3 separate regions of the Homo sapiens genome follow, and regions 2 and 3 are each linked to region 1. The links are contacts of gene promoters, found by promoter capture Hi-C in human tissues and cell types (Jung and others, 2019). All regions are on one chromosome and are shown on one strand. Each heading gives the region's core, a stretch centred on a gene start or on the middle of the fragment in contact. The rest is flanking DNA. Distances are from core to core; before and after follow the strand shown. Region 1 holds the start of EMX2 (empty spiracles homeobox 2). Region 2 overlaps CASC2 (cancer susceptibility 2). Region 3 overlaps CASC2 (cancer susceptibility 2).

Evidence for each region. Contacts are between HindIII fragments. The study calls those that stand out against the background at their distance.
Region 2: a fragment that was not itself captured here is called in contact with the fragment with the promoter of EMX2 in region 1 in 1 of the 25 tissues and cell types used here (lymphoblastoid cells).
Region 3: a contact is called between a fragment that was not itself captured here and the fragment with the promoter of EMX2 in region 1, in 1 of the 25 tissues and cell types used here (lymphoblastoid cells).

What each region holds. Positions count from the first base shown.
Region 1 is chr10:117,541,179-117,544,067 of GRCh38, reverse strand. EMX2 (empty spiracles homeobox 2) reads right to left here and starts at 1,322. Exons shown (of 3, transcript NM_004098.4): 1 at 395-1,322. The coding sequence starts at 800. It also overlaps EMX2OS. RefSeq lists an enhancer at 1-107. The HindIII fragment of the contact is 12,526 bases long and covers 1-2,889 here.
Region 2 is chr10:118,080,570-118,083,735 of GRCh38, reverse strand. The region is part of intron 3 of CASC2 (cancer susceptibility 2); the gene reads right to left. Among named protein-coding and RNA genes, the nearest start is that of RAB11FIP2, 35 kb to the right of the region's middle. The HindIII fragment of the contact is 4,931 bases long and covers 1-3,166 here.
Region 3 is chr10:118,124,651-118,127,916 of GRCh38, reverse strand. The region is part of intron 3 of CASC2 (cancer susceptibility 2); the gene reads right to left. Among named protein-coding and RNA genes, the nearest start is that of RAB11FIP2, 79 kb to the right of the region's middle. The HindIII fragment of the contact is 5,467 bases long and covers 1-3,266 here.

The sequences.
Region 1 (2,889 bases), core at 73-2,572:
CCTGTCCGCGCCCCTCGGAGCCAGGACGGTTGGGGGCATTGCCGAGGGTACCAGGAGCCTGGGGATCCCGCGGGCTCTGGGCTCCGCGGCGCCGGGCACGCACAGCCCAGCCTGCTCTGATTCGAGCGCACTGGGGGACAACTTCTCCGTTCGCACCCCTTCCCAAAGGGTCAAGCGGCCCGCAGGCCATCACTCCAAACCAGTCGTAGCTTCGGAGACTGGGGATCGACACCACGCCCGGCCCCGCGCCGCCTAGTTTCCCAACAGGGCGCGCTGGCCCGCGAGCCGGAGGAACCTCCGCCCAGGCCTTGCCAAGCGCCCACCCGGAGCAGGCCGGGGGCAGTGAAGGATGCGGCGGGAGCGGCGCGCTGCAGTTCCGCGACGTGGCACGTACCTTGGAAGCGATGACCCAGATATCGGTAGCGGTGGATGAGCCAGGGGTAGAAGGTGGACGGATCCCGCTGCTGCGAGGCGAATAGGGGGTGTGGCGAGTGCGAGGAGGGTAGGGGGTGGGCGGCCAGGGCGTGCGGCGGCGGCACCGGGTGCACTGGCACGGCGGGGTTGGGCGGGTGCGAGACCGCCTCGGCGAACACCAAGTCCGGGTTGGAGTAGACGCCCCTACCGGCGGCGGCGGCGGCGGCCGAGTGGAAGCCGTTGAGGAACGGATTTATGGGGCTGGAGTTAGCGTAGCTGAGTGCCGCGGGACGGATGGGGTCCTCGGAGCGCGAGGCGGGCAGGGGACTGTCCTTGGCCACCAGCGACTCGATGGTGAAGCAGCGCTTGGGCGCCGGCTGGAACATGCTGCGCCGAGGAGCGGGCGCCCTGGGCTCCCAGCTCCTGGCGACCGCCGCACGCTGCCTCCGCCGCCCGCTGCCCGCGGCGAGGACGGACGAGAATTGGGGACTCGTTTGTTTGGGGTGGGGGTGGGGGTGGGGGGAAGGAAAGGAAGAAAGAAAGGAAAGGAAAGGAAAAAGGAAAGGAGGGGGGAGGGAGAGGGAGAGGCAAAGCCGAGGATCCCGAGAATCTTGCACCAAACGCGCCCAACCTGAAGAGAGGGGGGAAAATCCTTCCAGAAGAATTTGCAGGCGTGGATTGGGGTAATTTTTTTTCTTTTTTTTTCTTTTTTTTTCTTTTTTTTTTTTTTTTTTTTTTTTGGCGAGATGGCGTGGGGGGATCGGAGTTAGAGGCAGGGAGGAGAAGGGGGGAAAGTTCTCGGGGGAGGCAAAAAAAAAAAAAAGTTTTTTCTCCTCTGCAAAAGGCGGGCAGGGCGCCCTAAGTCCAAGGACAATCCATGGAAGTGTTCGCTTCTTCACAAGTTGTGCAAACGATTTGTTAGTTCATGAGCCTAATTAGTGCGGGGATCACATAAACAGCTTCCTCCGAAGCCTGGTAAATGGCTTGATGATTGGTCGCTATTACTCGCCCTGAGGTGGAAGGGGGGAGACTCTTTAAAGTGCGTCAGAGGGAGGTGAGCGCCTGGGAACCCGGAGGCCTGGATCCGGGCCGAGAGTGGAACGGAGTCGGCGCCGCCGCCTCGGCTGAGCCTTCTGCCGCCCACCGGGCGGCCGGGCTTCTCCGCGCCTTCGCCCCTCGCTCCCAGCTCACTCGCTCCTGCGGCGCCCGCTGCGGCTTCTCCTCCTCCTTCGCCTCCTCCTCTTCCTCCAGTTTCTTCTTCTCCTCCTCCTCCTCTTCTTCCTCCTCCTCCTCTTCTTCCTCCTCCTCTTTCCCCACCTACTCCCCCTCAGCCACCGCCTCCTCCTCCACCAGCACCACTCCCTCCGGGGCACCCCGGTCCCTGCAGAGTCCCTGGCCGGCGCCGCCTCCGCTGCGGCCCCCTGAATCCCGAGCCTGCCTCGCCCAAGCTGGTAGGACAGAAGGACAGACAGATTCCTCTAGCCTAGCGCTCCGCCGCTGCTGCCTTACGCGGCCCCGCGTCGGGAGAACTGGGATCGCCCCAAGAGCACCGCGAGGGTAAGCGGGCAGGGGCTGGTTCCCGGGCTAAAGGCGCCGTTCGGTTATACCAATCCCCACACTTAGCAAAACTCCCAGCGGTTTCCTAGGCCAGGAGGGATCCTGGAGTGAGGGGTACGGGGTCCTCCCACCCCATCAACCACGCTTAGCCTCGAGGTCCCAGGGTCGGTGCGTTCGCGATTCTTGACCCGGCTCGTTCGTTTGCGAGTTGAGACCGGGAGCTGCCGACCCCGCCGGAGCAGTGGGCTTCCAACTCTCTCCCTCTCTCGCCCCACGGTCTCTAGCGTTTTCTGTCTGGGAGGGTGCTCACCTCCTTCCCCAAAACAATTCCTTCTGGAATATCTGGGACCGGCAGTCCAAGGTCAGGGGAGAGCCCGATATGGTGCTACTGTACTATTAAGGTTCCGTCGTAATTATTTTTGTCAGTGTGGTCAATGTTATTATTATTATAGATGATATTATTTTATTATTATTATTTCTATTATTATTATTATGCCATCTGTTGTCCCGGGGTTGGTGGGGGGGTGGTGGTTGCTGTGCAAACCCAGTGCAACTAACGACTACGGATCGCATCTCCGGTCCCGGGCCGTGTCCGCATTTTCGAGCTCGCCTTCGGTTTTGGGATGATTTTAGGACCGAGTTCCCTCGTCCCCATTGGCTCGCGCGGCGGCATAATTATGATCACATCCCCAGGCTGCTGGCGCTGCTCTCTGTTTATTGGTGGTTAAAGATCTATTATCTATTCATCAGCCGCCTCTTTTTTCCTTTTTTTCCTTTTGCCAATTACATTCTTCTAAAGTGAAGTACCAGCAGGTATTTTGCACGTTTACAATTAATGATAAAAAAAAATTCTAGCGTCGTTTAAAACTATTACTCCCAGGCCCCTGTCATTTCTCCTAAGAACGCAGAATTGCCTGT
Region 2 (3,166 bases), core at 391-2,890, 540 kb before region 1:
AATACTTTTAAACTTAACATTACTTTCTGCTTGGCAGGTTCACTGACACTTTGATGATTTGATGCATAATACAGAAGGTTTTAGTAGGATACAAGGATCTTATTTTATGTAAGACCTAAATAAAATATTCTGCTCATGACAAAAATTGTAATTCAATCAAAAGACAACTGATCCTACCCACTCTGGTCTTATGTTTCCCCATTTGTAAAAGGAGTGGGTCCAATGAGAGGGTCTTCAAGCCCCCCTTCTAACTCTAAAAATTTATAATTCTGAGGTCCTGCATTTCCCAAAGATATAAAATGCTTGATCTTGGTGTTGATCAGATAACCAAAGAAGCAAACACGGCCTAGTGCAGTGGCTCAGGCCAGACGTGGTGGCTCACGCCTGTAATCCCAGCACTTTGAGAGGACGAGGCAGGCGGATCACTTGAGGTCGGGAGTTCAAGACCAGGCTGACCAACATGGAGAAACCCTGTCTCTACTGAAAAAACAAAATTAGCCAGACGTGGTGGCACATGCCTGTAATCCCAGCTACTCGGGAGGCTGAGGCAGCAGAATTGCTTGAACCCAGGAGGCAGAGGTTGCAGTGAGCCGAGATGGCGCCATTGCACTCCCGCCTGGGCAACAAGAGTGAAACTCTGTCAAAAAAAAAAAAAAAAAAAAGAAGAAGAAAACACAAGTTAAAATATTAGAAAAATTATATACTTCTGAGTTTATTAACCAAACACACTAAATATTTGTGTATTCACAATTTCCCTATCTTAAAATTATCTAAAAGTCCAACATCCAGCCTGGTTAAGTGTCATTTTTTATATTTGTAATTAAAAACAAAACAACTACTCAATGTTATCATGTACCAAAATTGCATGTCAGGAACAAAACATTAGTGAGTTGAATTGCAGTCATCGTATATGTCATATTTCAGTGCTTGATTCTAGTCTGAGACAGAGACATATATGGCTCCATATCTCTTTAAAATTTTTAAAAAATTGCACGTCTGTCTTTTTCTGATTTGATGTAAGGCTTTAATGTTGATATGCTATTTTATAGGCTCCTTAAACTAAAAAAACTAGTGTAGATAAAAAACAAACTATATGTCTAAGAAATTTACCCTGAACAAAGGCTGAGAGGGAAAAAAACCTTCATTATTTTAGCTGAAAAATGGCAGATTAGTTCATTGAGTTTTAACCAAGACTTAAACCCAGCATAAGTTTGGGGTGGGATAAGGTCAGTAGGTACGGGTGTTGGGGGGGCGCCTACAAGAGCCCCTTATGGCCCAGCTGAGGTCTCATACTTCTTTACTTTTGAGATTATTTCTAAAAGAGATTAAATATTCTGTTATTCTATTTATTTTGTGCTACACGCAATAATTTATAAAATATCATTTGAAATACACTAACATTTAGGAAATCTGATTTTGCAATTTGTTCATTTTTTTAATGTATTCAGAAGCCTTGAGAAATGTAGCGGACTTGATGACTTGATTGTGGCTTCATTATTGGTTTCTAGAGCTGCTTATTGGTTACTGACAGAATCTAAGCTCCATGAAACATGGGATGTTTGTCTATTTCACTCATTGCTGTGTCCCCAGTGCCCAGAACAGTCCCTGGCACACAGCAGGCACTCAAACAAAATTTGGCTAATAAATAAAGGACATTAGTATATTTGTGATTTCTGTTTGCAAAATGTCCATTCTCGAGTGAGAGAGAGGACTTTGGGGAAGCCTGCAGGAATTAATTGATAAATAATGTAATATTTCAATCTTTCTATGGGATAGCCCTCAAATTGTGTTCTGATCCATTCTTTAAAACAAGAAAAAGTGAATAAGCAAATACCCAATAAAAGCAGGCAGCAGTAATAGATAATACAAACGAGGATGCAATTTTTAGTTACTTTTCAAACTCTCTCTCTCTCTCTCTCTCTCTCACTTCAGGCTGTTTATATTGGTCAGAAGAGAATTGGATGGATGGATGGATGGATGGATGGATGGATGGATGGATGGACAAATAGGTAAGACTGGGAAAGACTGACTGCTTTATCTCCCCTTTAGAAACTTGATAATTATAGCAATAATAGCTAATACAGGGCATACATGGTGCTTATCTTGTGTCAGGCTCTGTTCTAAGGGCTTTATATATACGATATATATCAATGGAAGTAATTCTCACAACTACTCTGAGAGATATGCCCTATTTCTGACTCCATTTTGCAGATGAGGAAATTGAGGTGCAGAGATATTGACTTGCCCAAGATCACACATTTAGTCAGTGGTGGAATCAAAAGTTAGATCACAGTGGGGTCTCTGGAGTCCACACTCCTAACCACTTTGGTGTAGTGCCTCTAAGACTCAGTAAAGAAACATCTCTACCTCTCTTTAACCCACTGTTCCCAAAATTATTTGACCACAATGTACCAGTCAATATCTTTAGAACATAATCTGGCAAACGCAGAAGCATGATATTTGTTTGGTACCTTACAAGTCAAAATGTTTGACCTTGTAAATAGGGAAATGAGTTATAATCAGAAATGTTCTCCTAATTTTAGGAAAGAGTTAGCATGAATTGAGTTTGAATTCTCAGCTTCCACATGCCATATAACTCACCTATGAAACAACAGAAGGAGGCAAGATATTCTTTGCCATTTCTTAAAAATGAAACAACTTCTTTGATTGATATTCGTGAGTTGCAAACCAAACAAAACTATGTAAAAAAGTGCATAGCTGGCAAAATGGCATGACAAATGATACCACGAAGTTCATGAGGAAAGAAAGCTAAGAAACGTTCCATTCTCCAAAGTAATTGAAACCTAGGCTTTACCATTCACTCATGAACCATTCCAGCTGAGAGGTTCTTCTCACAGCCACCAGCAGACCCTGAGTGAACCCTGGTGCAAAATCTAACGTAGAACACTGCTGTGTTGTGCATGCCTGCATAGGCCCTCAGGAAGGGGAAATAGGTTTGGCTAGGTAAGGATATATTTCTTAGGGAATAGGAAAGACAAGCTTGCCCCTCTCAAAGGCACACAATCCAGGTCTGCCATACAGAAGAGGGAGCTTTGAGCATCTTTATTTTAGCTGCATTGTGAATTCCTGCTCCCATCCACCAATATCAAGTTTAAGGTGGGGAAGGGTGTCAGGTGGGAATGACAGAAGGGCAAGACCCACAGGT
Region 3 (3,266 bases), core at 211-2,710, 580 kb before region 1:
CAGGCAAGGAGAAAAGTCTGTACAAAGGCCCGAGCATGAGGTAGAGCCCCAGTGTGTTCAAAGGACTAAGAAAAGTCTAGTGATGGGGGCAGTAGGTGTGAGAGAGCAAAGGTGTGAGTGGTTTGAAAGTGTTTGAACAGGTTGGTGAGGCCAGCATCTACAGGGCTTATAAACCATGTAAAATGGGTTGGGCTTGATTTTCAGGTCATGGGAAGGCATTGAAGGGCTTCTGGCTGGGGTGACATGATCAAATTTGCAGTTTTTAGCATCCCTGACTATTTGAAAGGAGAATGGCTAGAGAAAGATGTGAATGAATGGAAACAATGGAGAGCAGGCAGGAGGCTGTTGCAACCATTCGTGGAAGAGACACTGGGGGCATAGGGGACAGAAAAAGTGGCTGGAGCCCAGGCAAGGTTAGGGTTAACAGGAAGTGGTGATAGATTATGCAGGAGAGGGGTCCCTGATATCTCCTAGATTTCTAGATCAAGGAACGGGCTCTTCACACTTTGCATGTCATCTCATTGCTTGTGTATCTTCCCATCTTCCTCCTGCACGCAGGAGAGAGCTACCCAGAAGCGTGCAGCAGGAAGATGGGCCATTTGCCTAAGAATTCATGCTTGCTGAAATATTAACTAGCTAGTAGTTTCCTCTGGTGATCCCTAAAAATTCTTATTTAGGAATTTATTATCCAGGAAATGAGAATATTCTGTACATTCCTTTCAAGGGACCCTCCATAAGGCAGAGACTTACTGAAAGCAAGCTTTATACATTCCTGGTGTCTTTCCACCCATTGAGATCAAAGTCCTCAAGAGTCATTGGTTTGGGTTATAATGATCATTCAGAGTTTAAGTAAAAATTAATGAAGCACACATTTTTATTCAATGTAAGGAAGGACTTTTCAAAAAGGAAATGAGCTGCCTCAGGGGCAAGCGCTGTTCACTCCTAAGGACTAAGCTCAAATATCACCTCCTAAGATGCCAGCCCAGAGTCCGCCAGGCAGAGTTCAACATTCCATTCTCCTTGCCCCTGCACATTGTTTATTCCTCCACCATCATGCTCACTTCCTCTTATTATATCTTATTACAAAAGAATGTGAATACAGTAAAGTTTTGGGAATTTACATACAGAAATAAGTAGCATTTCAATACCCCAATAACAATCTAGCAGAGGACCAAATTGAGAAGGCAATTCCAATTACATTAGCTACCAAAAAAATATATTTAACCAAGGAGGTGAAAGATCTCTCTAAGGAGAACTACAAAACACTGATGAGAAATTATAGATGACACAAACAAATGGAATAACATCCCGTGCCAAGAATTGGAAGAATCAATACAATTAAAATGACCATACTGCCCAAATAATTTACAGATTCAACACAATTCCTATCAAATTACCAATGTCATTTTTCACAGAATTAGAAAAAACTATTCTATAATTCATATTAAACCAAAAAAAAAAAACCCTAATAGCTAAAACAATCCTAAGCAAAAAGAGCAAAGCCAGAGGCATCACATTACCTGACTTCAAGTACACTACAAGGCCATAGTAACCCAAACAGCACAGTACTGGTGTAAAAATACATAGATCAATGGAACAGATGAGAGAACCCAGAAATAAAGCCACATATCTACAGCCAACTGATCTTAGACAAAGTCAACAAAAACGTACACTGGGGAAAGGACATCCTATGCAATACATGGTGCTGGGACAATTGGATAGCCATATGCAGAAGGATGAAACTGGACCCATACTTGTCACCATGTACAAAAATTGACTCAAAGTGGATTAAAGACTTAAAGGTAAGACCTGAAACTATAAAAATCCTAGAAGAAAACCCAGGAAAACTTGTTCTGGACATAGGCCTAGGCAAAGAATTTATGATCAAGTTCTCAAAAGCAAACACAACAAAAATAGACAAATTGAGACTTAATTAAACTAAAAACTTTTGCACAGCAAAAGAATCAGCAAGGTAAACAAACAACCTAAGGATGGGAAAAAATATTTGCAAACTACACATCTGACAAAGGGCTAATATTTAGAAACTACAAGAAATTCAAACAACTCAACAAGGAAAGAAAAACCAAATAACCCCAATACAAAGTGGGCAAAGGATATAAGCAGAGAGAAGATATACATCAGCCAAAAAACATATGGAAAAAATGCTCAACAGCACTAATTATCACAGAATACAAATTAAAGCAACAGTAAGATACCATCTTATACCAGTCAGAATGGCTATTATTAAAAATCAAAAAGCAACAGAGTTGGCAAGGATGTGGGGAAAAGAAAATGCTTGTACACTATTAGTGGGAATGGATAGAGTTCAACCTCTATGGAAAACAGTGTGGAGAATCCACAAAGAACAAAAAAAATAGAACTACTCTTTGATCCAGCAATCTCATAACTGGTATATACCCAAAGGGAAAGAAAACACTATATCAAAAAGTTATCTGCATTTGTATGTTTATCACAGCACTATTCACAATAGGAACATGGAATCAACCTAAGGTCAACCTAAGTGCCCATGAGTGCAGGACTGAATGAAGAAAATGTGGCATATATATATGAATACTATGCAGCCATAAAACAGAATGAAATCATGTCTTTTGTAGTGACATGGATGGAACTGGAGGCCCTTATCCTAAGTGAAACAACTCAAAACAGAAAATCAAGTACTGCATGTTCTCACTTACAAGAAGTGGGAGCTAAAGAGTGGGTACAAACGGACATACAGAGTAGAGTAATACACGTTGGAAACTACAAAAGACGGGAGGATGGGAGAGCAGCTGAGGGGTGGAAAAATAACCTGTTGGGTACGGTATTAGTCTGTTCTAACACTGCTATAAAGAACTACCTGAGACTGGGTAATTTATGAAGAAAAGAGGTTTAATTGACTCACAGTTCTACAGGCTTAACAGGAAGCATGACTGGGAGGCCTCAGGAAACTTACACTCAGGGGAAGAGGAAGCAAGCACCTTCTTCACATGACAGCAGGAGAGAGAGAGCAAAGGGGAAAGTGCCACACACTTTTAAACCACCAGATCTCATGAGAACTCACTCACTGTCACAAGAACAACAAGGGGGAAATCTGCCCCATGATCTACTCACCTCCCACCAGGCACTTCCTCCAATTCAACATGAGATTTGGGCAGGGACACAAATCCAAACTGTGTCAGGTACAGTGTTCACTATTCAGGTGATGGATGCACTAAACACCCAGACTTCACCACTATGCAATATATGCCTGGAAGATATCCACACTT